Regions from separate parts of the Homo sapiens genome. Here region 1 is linked to region 2. Evidence: promoter capture Hi-C in human tissues and cell types (Jung and others, 2019). All regions are on one chromosome and are shown on one strand. Each heading gives the region's core, a stretch centred on a gene start or on the middle of the fragment in contact. The rest is flanking DNA. Distances are from core to core; before and after follow the strand shown. Region 1 has its middle 13 kb from the start of GPBP1. Region 2 holds the start of IL31RA (interleukin 31 receptor A).

Region 1 (4,363 bases), core at 574-3,073, 1.3 Mb after region 2:
TTTACACATTGAACTGTGTGTTTTATCAATTACTTCCAGTTTATTTACTATAGTAAATTAATGAACACAAAATGTTAATTATTGAAAGAAAAGGGAGGTGTTAGATCTGTCGAGTTGGCCAGGCCCAGTGGTTCACACCTGTAATCCTAGCACTTTTGGAAGCTGAGACAGGAAGATCACTTGAGGTCAAGAGTTCAAGATCAGCCTGGCCAACATGGTGAAACCTCGTCTCTACTAAAAATACAAAAATTAGCCAACATGGTGGTGCATACTTGTAATCCCAGCTACTTGGGAGGCTGAGGCAAGAGAATAGCTTGAACCCAGGAGGTGAAGGTTGCAGTGAGCTGAGATCGAGCCACGGCACTCCAGCCTGGGTGACAGAGCAAGACTCCGTCTCAAAAAAAAAGATCTGTAGAGTTGAGACCCACTGGCCTAGAGTAACAGCTTTTCACTTTTGGACCAATAGACCCCTTTCAGGATAGAATGAAAATTAGTAACAATCCCATCTACACGTAAGCAGAAACCTTTGCATAAACAGTCTGTGCTTTATTATATGCAAGTGAGCCCACTCTTGGGGATAGTTGGAAGATGGGGTAATGAAGGAAGGCATGTAAATAGTTTGATAACAGAAAACTATTTCACTCTTTCTCAGTTTGTACATTTAAATCCTTTCTCTACAATGGTTCTTGTCTGTCCCAGGACAAAATCTTAAGCATGTTTTGTAGTTTTTTTACTGTCAATTTTAGACAAGAAAAAGGCCAGTCCAGTTGAATAGTCCACATTCCAAACTGTCACCAATTCAAGTTCTCCTTCCGTCAAGCTCAAATATATTTCATGTTTTATTGTTTGGAAGGGAGGAAGCAGAAATAAAGAACAGAAAGGTCTTATACAGTTATAATCTGGTATTGGTGTCCTCTAGATTGAACGGATGTTAAATGCTGGTTTTTTCCCATAGAGAGTTTCTCTAGATACTCTCCCACTTTGAGAATTTCTTTGTAGAGATAAAGTCTCACTATGTTACCCAGGCTGGAGTGTAGTGGCTATTCATAGATGGGATCCTGGTGCTCTACAGCCTCGAATTCCTGAGCTCAAGGGATATTCCTGCCTCAACCTCCCAAGTAGCTGTGGTGTCCCGGGTGTAGGACACCACACCCAACCACTTTGAGAATTTCTAATGTTAAAAACCTTTTTTTAGGCCGGCGCAGTGGCTTACCTGTAATCCCAGCACTTTGGGAGCCCAAGGTGGGCAGATCACGAGGTCAAGAGATTGAGACTATCCTGGCCAACATGGTGAAGCCCCATGTCTACTAAAAATACAAAAATTAGCTGGGCATGCTAGCGCATGCCTGTAGTCCCACCTACTCAGGAGGCTGAGGCAGGAGAATAGCTTGAACGTGGGAGACAGGGGTTGCGGTGAGTCGAGATCACGCCATTGCACTCCAGCCTGGGCAACAAGAGCAAAACTCCGTCTCAAAAACAAACAAAAAAACAAAAAAACTGTTTTTTATGTAAAGCAATGATTCCTCCAGCTGGCCATGTGTGGTCTTCCCTTGGCCCCTGGTTTCCAGGAGTTTCCAGTGACCCACCTCTCTGCTGGAGTCACCACATCCTTACAAGTGGTCTTCTTGGTGCAAATCCAGCTCCCTTACCCCAGTCCATATTTGGCTTTGGCTTATGAATAACTCACGCATCCTCTGCCCCACCAACCACTGGGTGCAGACCGTTCCCAACACAGTCCCCTCTCTTAGCTCTTTTGTCAGAAAAGCAGGTCAATACAGCCTTGCTGAGTCAGGTGCTGTGTGGCTTCCAAGCTTCAGGGGAAAATGTGAACCTAGCTCACTTGTTCTTCTAAAGCCCTTTAAACAGGAGGCTTGGCGGGGCACGGTGGCTCACGCCTGTAATCCCAGCACTTTGGGAGGCCGAGGCGGGAGGATCACGAGGTCAGGAAATCGAGACCATCCTGGCTAACACGGTGAAACCCCGTCTCTACGAAAAATACAAAAAATTAGCCGGGCGGGGTGGCGGGCGCCTATAGTCCCAGCTACTCGGGAGGCTGAGGCAGGAGAATGGCGTGAACCCGGGAGGCGGAGCTTGCAGTGAGCCGAGATCGCGCCACTGCACTCCAGCCTGGGCGACACAGCGAGACTCCATCTCAAAAACAACAACAACAACAACAACAACAACAACAACAACAATAATAATAATAAACAGGAGGCTTAGCTTGAGAAGGGGCTAAGCTCTAGCCTCCCCTTGCCCATTGCCCAGGGCATTTGGCTAGTGGGGAGAGCATCACCACACTAATACAGTGTGTGTTTGAGATTCATTTATTTCCTACTTAGAACCAAATTTTGACTTCTATAAACAGAGATGAGGCCATGGGTATCTTGCTCCTTGTTGCATCCTCAGCATTTAGCCCAGTCCCTAAGTCAGAGTAGGTTGTATATGACTAACTGTTTAATGGATGAATTACTATGCCATTAGTAACTAAGTTTTCTGCTTGTAAGTTAAAGCAAAAAACAACACAGAAAATTTTAAGTAATTTTTCTGTTTTCATTTTCTTTTTCTCATCCTCCAATTTTACTTTTTCATTCCAATTCTACTTTTCTCTTAACCTTTGATACACCAACTTTTTTTCCTCAAATTGTCTTTTTTCACCCATTCATTTTACACTTCTAGAAGTTTGGCTGGATTCACCTTTTGCAGTAGAAAAGAATGCTAACTGCAAGGAGACTTCCCAGAGTCTTCCTCAGATTGCCTTTCATTATGCTGACGTGAAAAGAGCTTCTGCTTTGGGTGATAGAGGAAAATTGGATAGGATAAATTGCTTCCTTTTCAATTATATTCCACAAAAAGGATCCTGCTTTTAAGGGAAACTTATTTATAGACAGAGCCAGTGATTCTGATTCTTCTTTGGGCTAGCCATGCTGTTGACACAAAAAGAAAAACACCAGAATTGTTACACTTACCTTATAGGTTGTTTCAGATGGCCAGTTTCTTTACCAAAAGCTGAAGGTCTTCCTCAATAGACTTTGGAGATCATGGATGAAAGAAAACACTGCATTGTATCAGTCAACTTACAGGACAAGGGCCCTGAATTCATAGGTGCTCCTTAGGATGAAAATGACAGAAACCCAATACAAACTAGTAAAGAAGTAAAGAAAATGTATTTACTTCCATTACTGTGAAGTTCAGAGATGATCACTGCTTCAGGAAGGAAGGACTACATTCAAAGACTAAAAAATATGTCAATGCTCTGATTATTTTTGTTTCTGAGAGCTACATGGCAGACAATAGAAATCCCAGATTTTGTCGACTGGTGATCCCACATTTACAACCTCTCAGTTTTAGTAACCCCAGTAGAAAGAGAATGTCTTTATGAGAGCATCTCTGGCAAAGTCCTACACAAGGTTATAATTGGTCAAGCTTGAGTCACATCCTCAAATTGACACTGTGGCCATGAAGATGGAATTTTTTCTTTTTTTTCTTTTTTTTTTTTTGAGATGGAGTTTTACTCTGTGGCCCAGGCTGGAGTGCAGTGGTGCAATCTCAGCTCACTGCAACATCTGCCTCCCCGGTTCAAGCAATTCTCCTGCCTCAGCCTCCCGAGTAGCTGGGATTACAGGTGTGTGCCACCATGTCTGGCTAATTTTTTGTATTTTTAGTAGAGATGGGATTTCACCATGCTGGCCAGGCTGGTCTCGAACTCTTGACCTCGTGATCCACCCTCCTCAGCCTCCCAAAGTGCTGTGATAACAGGAGTGAGCCAACATGCCCGGTCGAAGATGGTATATTATCCTTTTTTTTTTTTTTTGTTTTGAGATGGAGTCTTGCTTTGTTGCCCAGGCTGGAGTGCAGTGGCACTATCTCGGCTGACTGCAAGCTCCACCTCCCAGGTTCACGCCATTCTCCTGCCTCAGCCTCCCGAGAAGCTGGGACTACAGGTGCCCGCCACCACGCCCAGCTAATTTTTTCTGTATTTTTTGTAGAGACGGGGTTTCACCGTGTTAGCCAGGATGGTCTCGATCTCCTGACCTCGTGATCCGCCCGCCTTGGCCTCCCAAAGTGCTGGGATTACAGGCGTGAGCCACCGCGCCAGGCCCAAATATGTATTTCATAATATCGCAATGTCCCAAACTGAACTCATGATTTCCATCTTCCACCTAACTTGTTTTTGGGCCTCAGTTAACTCAGGGAATGCCATTAACAGCCAACCAAGTGCCTAAATTAGAAACTGGGTGTCATCGCTGACTTTTTTCTGCCTTGTCTTCACAAACATTGAAACATCACATTTTCTGAGTTCTATATCCTATTCTTGAATCTGTTTATGTTGCTCCACCACTCTCTGCTCATTCATTTATTCACT
Region 2 (4,502 bases), core at 1,154-3,653:
ACATTGCTCCTCCTAGGAGGAAATGGTTGAGGTGTCAGACTGAGAATGACATCTATTTCCCTTCATGGGGAGAGCACTTGTTAATTCACCTATTAATTCACTTTTAAAATATAATTTTACATTTTATCAAAGTAATACATATACATAGTTTAAACATTCAAGTGGCACTCTAAGACTTACCACGAATAACAGCAATACAGTGCTATATCCCTTCCCATTGCCAAACTTTCTTCACAGAAAAAATCACTTTCATTTCTTTTAGCTTTTTTTTTTTCTGGGGTTTATTTCCATATCTATAAAGAACATGTTTATACTGCAATTTAATTTTTTTTTCAATTTTAGACATTATCTATTGACTTCTTACTAACTATGGAAGATAAAGACTGAAGTCTCTTACCAATTCTATACACAAACACACACATATGTGCATCCTTTCCTAACCCCATTCTTTCAATATAGTTATAACTTTTGTTAAATCCATTAATGTTTTCATTGTTGTGACTCTATAGTTATTCATAGCTGAGCCACATATTGGACTTTAAATATATTTTCTTATATAACATTTTCTTTTTCCTGGAATTAATAATTATGCCATTTTTTGGTTTCCTTAACTTACTGAGCCGATTACTCATCCTTCTCCAAACTTTCTAAGAGTGCTGCAAAACTTTTCAAGTTTCAACATCTGTCAGATCCATTGGGTCCCCTCCATGTATTTTTTCATTGGAAATATCCCTCCTTGAGCCTGGCGTCTGCCACTCACTTGGGCTAGTTGCTCTCCAAGCCTGTTGTACTCTTATCATCTTGGGATCTCCCTTGGCCACCATTCTTGGAATTCTCTCTCTTCTATTTGAAATTTGCTGTTTTTGGGAGCCCATTTTTCCTTTTTGTTTTGGCTTATGCTCTTGTTTTTGTAGTCACTTTTTTCAATAACATCTCGAAAATGGTCACATGGGAGATAAAGTTCTTGAAACTTGGCATGTTGGAAAATGCAGTTTCAAGAACGTTGTTTTACCTTTCTTTCTGATGGATCATTTGGATGGGTAGAGCATCCTAGGTGAGAAATAATTTTCCAATAGAGTTATAAAGGAATTGATCCATTGCTTTCTAACTTCTGGTTTTGTTATTAAGTCTAAAGCCATTCTCATCCTTGATCCTTTGTATGTGACTTATTTTTTTCCTATCTGGAAACATTTTTTTTCTGTTTATTCTTGATATTCTGAAACTTCACTGTTTTGTACTTCAGTGTAGATTTATTTTCATTTATTATGCTGTTTACAGTGGGCCCTTTCAATCTGGAAACAAATGTTCCTCAATTCTTGGGAATTTTATTGTATCACTTCTCTCATTATTTCTTTCCCTCCATTCCTCTGTTCTGTGCTTCTGTACTGCTGGTAGTCAGATGTTGGCTATTCTTCATCTCTTTGTCTTTTCTTCTATCTTCTGGAAGATTTCCTCAACTTTATTTTCTAGTCTTTAGACTTCAGCTCTCATATTTTGAATCTCCAAGAGTTCTTGTTCTCTAATTATGCCTTTATCATAGCATCCTATTCATATTTTGTGGGTACAACATTTTTTCTTATTTTCTATGAAGGTTTAACTAATATTTCTTTTAAAAAATATTCTGCTTTCTGCATTGCCTTTCTTTCAAGTTTTTTCCCCCCATCTGCTGTTGGGATGGGAGAAATTTAATGAATTTGGCTTTGTGGGGTTAGGATTAGGTAGTCTATTTCTTTTTCAGATTTTCAACCAATCTTATGATTTTTGTTTCAGAGGTATAGTCAATTCTCATTATTCCTTCATTATTCCTGGCAATTATGTTCAATAAAATCGCCACAAACACTGAATTAGAAAATACTGCTGAGCGTGGTGGCTCATGCCTGTAATCCCAGCACTTTGGGAGGCCGAGGCAGGTGGATCACCTGAGGTCAGGAGTTTGAGACCAGCCTGAACAACATGGAGAAACCCCGTCTCTACTAAAAATACAAAATCAGCTGGGCTTGGTGGCGCATGCCTGTAATCCCAGCTACATGGGAGGCTGGCCTGAGGCAGGAGAATCACTTCAACCCGGGAGGTGGAGGTTGCGGTGAGCTGAGATGGCGCAATTGCACTCCAGCCTAAGCAACAAGAGCGAAACTCTGTCTCAGAAGAAAAAAAAAAAGAAAAAAAGAAAATACTGAATTATTCTCTGTGGGGGAAATATAGAGTTAGGTGCCTGTGAGCCTCTGGTCACAACATTTTTGTCAGCTAATCAATACATAACCTTGTTTTGTGTGTGTTTCTGTTTAAAGACACCTTATTTAATATACATTGTTGATTCATCAACATTGAACTCATGGCTAATAACAGTACTATGACTCATGCCTGAATAGAGCTTATTTAACACACATATTTTCTCCATGAGGCACAGCCTCCTTCTGCTTAGGAACACCAGACAGCACTCCAGCACTCTGCTTGGGGGGCATTCGAAACAGCAAAATCACTCATAAAAGGCAAAAAATTGCAAAAAAAAATAGTAATAACCAGCATGGCACTAAATAGACCATGAAAAGACATGTGTGTGCAGTATGAAAATTGAGACAGGAAGGCAGAGTGTCAGCTTGTTCCACCTCAGCTGGGAATGTGCATCAGGCAACTCAAGTTTTTCACCACGGCATGTGTCTGTGAATGTCCGCAAAACATTGTGAGTATTGATTTGGGGGGTTACAAATAATTCCTAGCAAGTAGGTGAATTCACAAATAAGGAAGCTGTGAGTAATGAGGGTTGATTTTACCTACCTAGTGTCTCAAATCCTGAGCCGTATGAGATTCCGTGGCATAATTATGTTTGCTTATTGTTGGCAACCTTATTAGGCATTTCTAGGTTTCTGCTTTCTCATCTTTACCAGTTCAGTTATGGCTTGATTCATTTCTCTTTTTCCAAAGATTTGTTGACATCTCTTATTTGCTGTTGCCTCTTCCCATTTGTTTTGTCTTGTGGTTCTATATCTTTGCCATAATTTTTGTGGAGTTTCCTGAGAGAGTAGAGATAAATGTATATGCTCAATTGGTCTTGTCTTAACCAGAATTCTATTTAATACACAACACCTTTAGTGAGCTGTTATGCATGTAATAGGTGTTTACTAAGTATTGGTTGAATAAATTCAAGAAATGCTTGCTATTTTTGTGCTAGCATTTAGCTTTTCTCTATAGTATATTATAATGGAATTTTATTTTATTTTATTTTATTTATTTTTTGAGACAGAGTTTCACTCTTGTCGCCAGGTTGGAGTACAATGGCACGATCTTGGCTCACTGCAACCTCTGCCTCCCGGGTTCAAGCGATTCTCCTGCCTCAGCCTCCCGAGTAGCTGGGATTACAGGTGCCTGCCACCATGCCTGACTAATTTTTTTGTATTTTTAGTAGAGATGGGGTTTTGCCATGTTGGTCAGGCTGGTCTCAAACTCCTGACATCAGGTGATCCACCTGCCTCAGCCTCCCAAAGTGCTGGGATTACAGGCGTGAGCCACCACGCCTGGCTGGAATTTTAAATATCTCATAATTATAATCTTCTAGGTAAAAGACTAGCTCTCTTTCTCACCCTTATTCCTCCTACTTAGTGGAACATTGCCTAAGGAAGATGGGGAATGGGTTAAAAATTAAAATGTGGGGCTGGAAAGCATAGCTTGTTTTAAAACTTAGTTTTCTTTCCTTTTGCATCATAATCTCTTCCCCGGTCTATTTATTTCTCGTGGTTTTGTCAGTCCATTACAAACGGTTGCAAAATTGTGGTACTAGAAGGGATCCTAGAAATAATCTAATTTGAACCTTTGATTGCTAGGAAACTGAGAGTCAGGCTGCCTTGGTTCAAGTCTTGGCTCCACCACCCATGTAGGACATGTTGCTTACTGTTTTGACCTCAGTTTCCTTGCCTATAAAGTGGGAATAAAAATACTCCTGATGTTATAGGATTGTTGTGAAGATTAAAAGAGATAATTAATGTGAAGTTCTTAGTACTATGCCTGACACACAGTAAGAGCTCCACAAATTATTAATGATGATTATTACTAGTGGCTAAACTGAAGCTCTGGTTTCTCAGTTCAGTATGTTTTCCTTTAGACGTAAATAAGAATTTGTAAGCCTCTTTTTGGAGTCAGCTACCATTATTTTCTTTCCTTCATCTCCTTCATTGTCTAAAGACAGTTAACATGATTGCGTATTTCTCATTTCAAGCTAAAGATACTCTCACTGTTTCAGCTATTACCACATTTGTAAGGACTTCCTGAAGAGAAAATTTAAAAGTTAGTCACTTCTTTTAGTTGTTTCTGGTCTTTCAGATGATCCTTTTTTTTTGTAGAGTTGAGTGTTTTTGTTTTTGCTTTTGTTTTTAGTTAACAATAATGCAATCCATTTCCCAGCATAAGTGGGTAAGTGCCACTTTGACTTGGGCTGGGCTTAAAAGCACAAGAAAAGCTCGCAGACAATCAGAGTGGAAACACTCCCACATCTTAGTGTGGATAAATTA

Evidence for each region. Contacts are between HindIII fragments. The study calls those that stand out against the background at their distance.
Region 1: a fragment that was not itself captured here is called in contact with the fragment with the promoter of IL31RA in region 2 in 1 of the 25 tissues and cell types used here (pancreas).

The regions. Positions count from the first base shown.
Region 1 is chr5:57,158,576-57,162,938 of GRCh38, forward strand. No RefSeq gene overlaps it. Among named protein-coding and RNA genes, the nearest start is that of GPBP1, 13 kb to the right of the region's middle. The HindIII fragment of the contact is 4,747 bases long and covers 1-4,197 here.
Region 2 is chr5:55,848,954-55,853,455 of GRCh38, forward strand. IL31RA (interleukin 31 receptor A) reads left to right here and starts at 2,404. Exons shown (of 15, transcript NM_139017.7): 1 at 2,404-2,680. The coding sequence starts at 2,618. The HindIII fragment of the contact is 16,782 bases long and covers 1-4,502 here.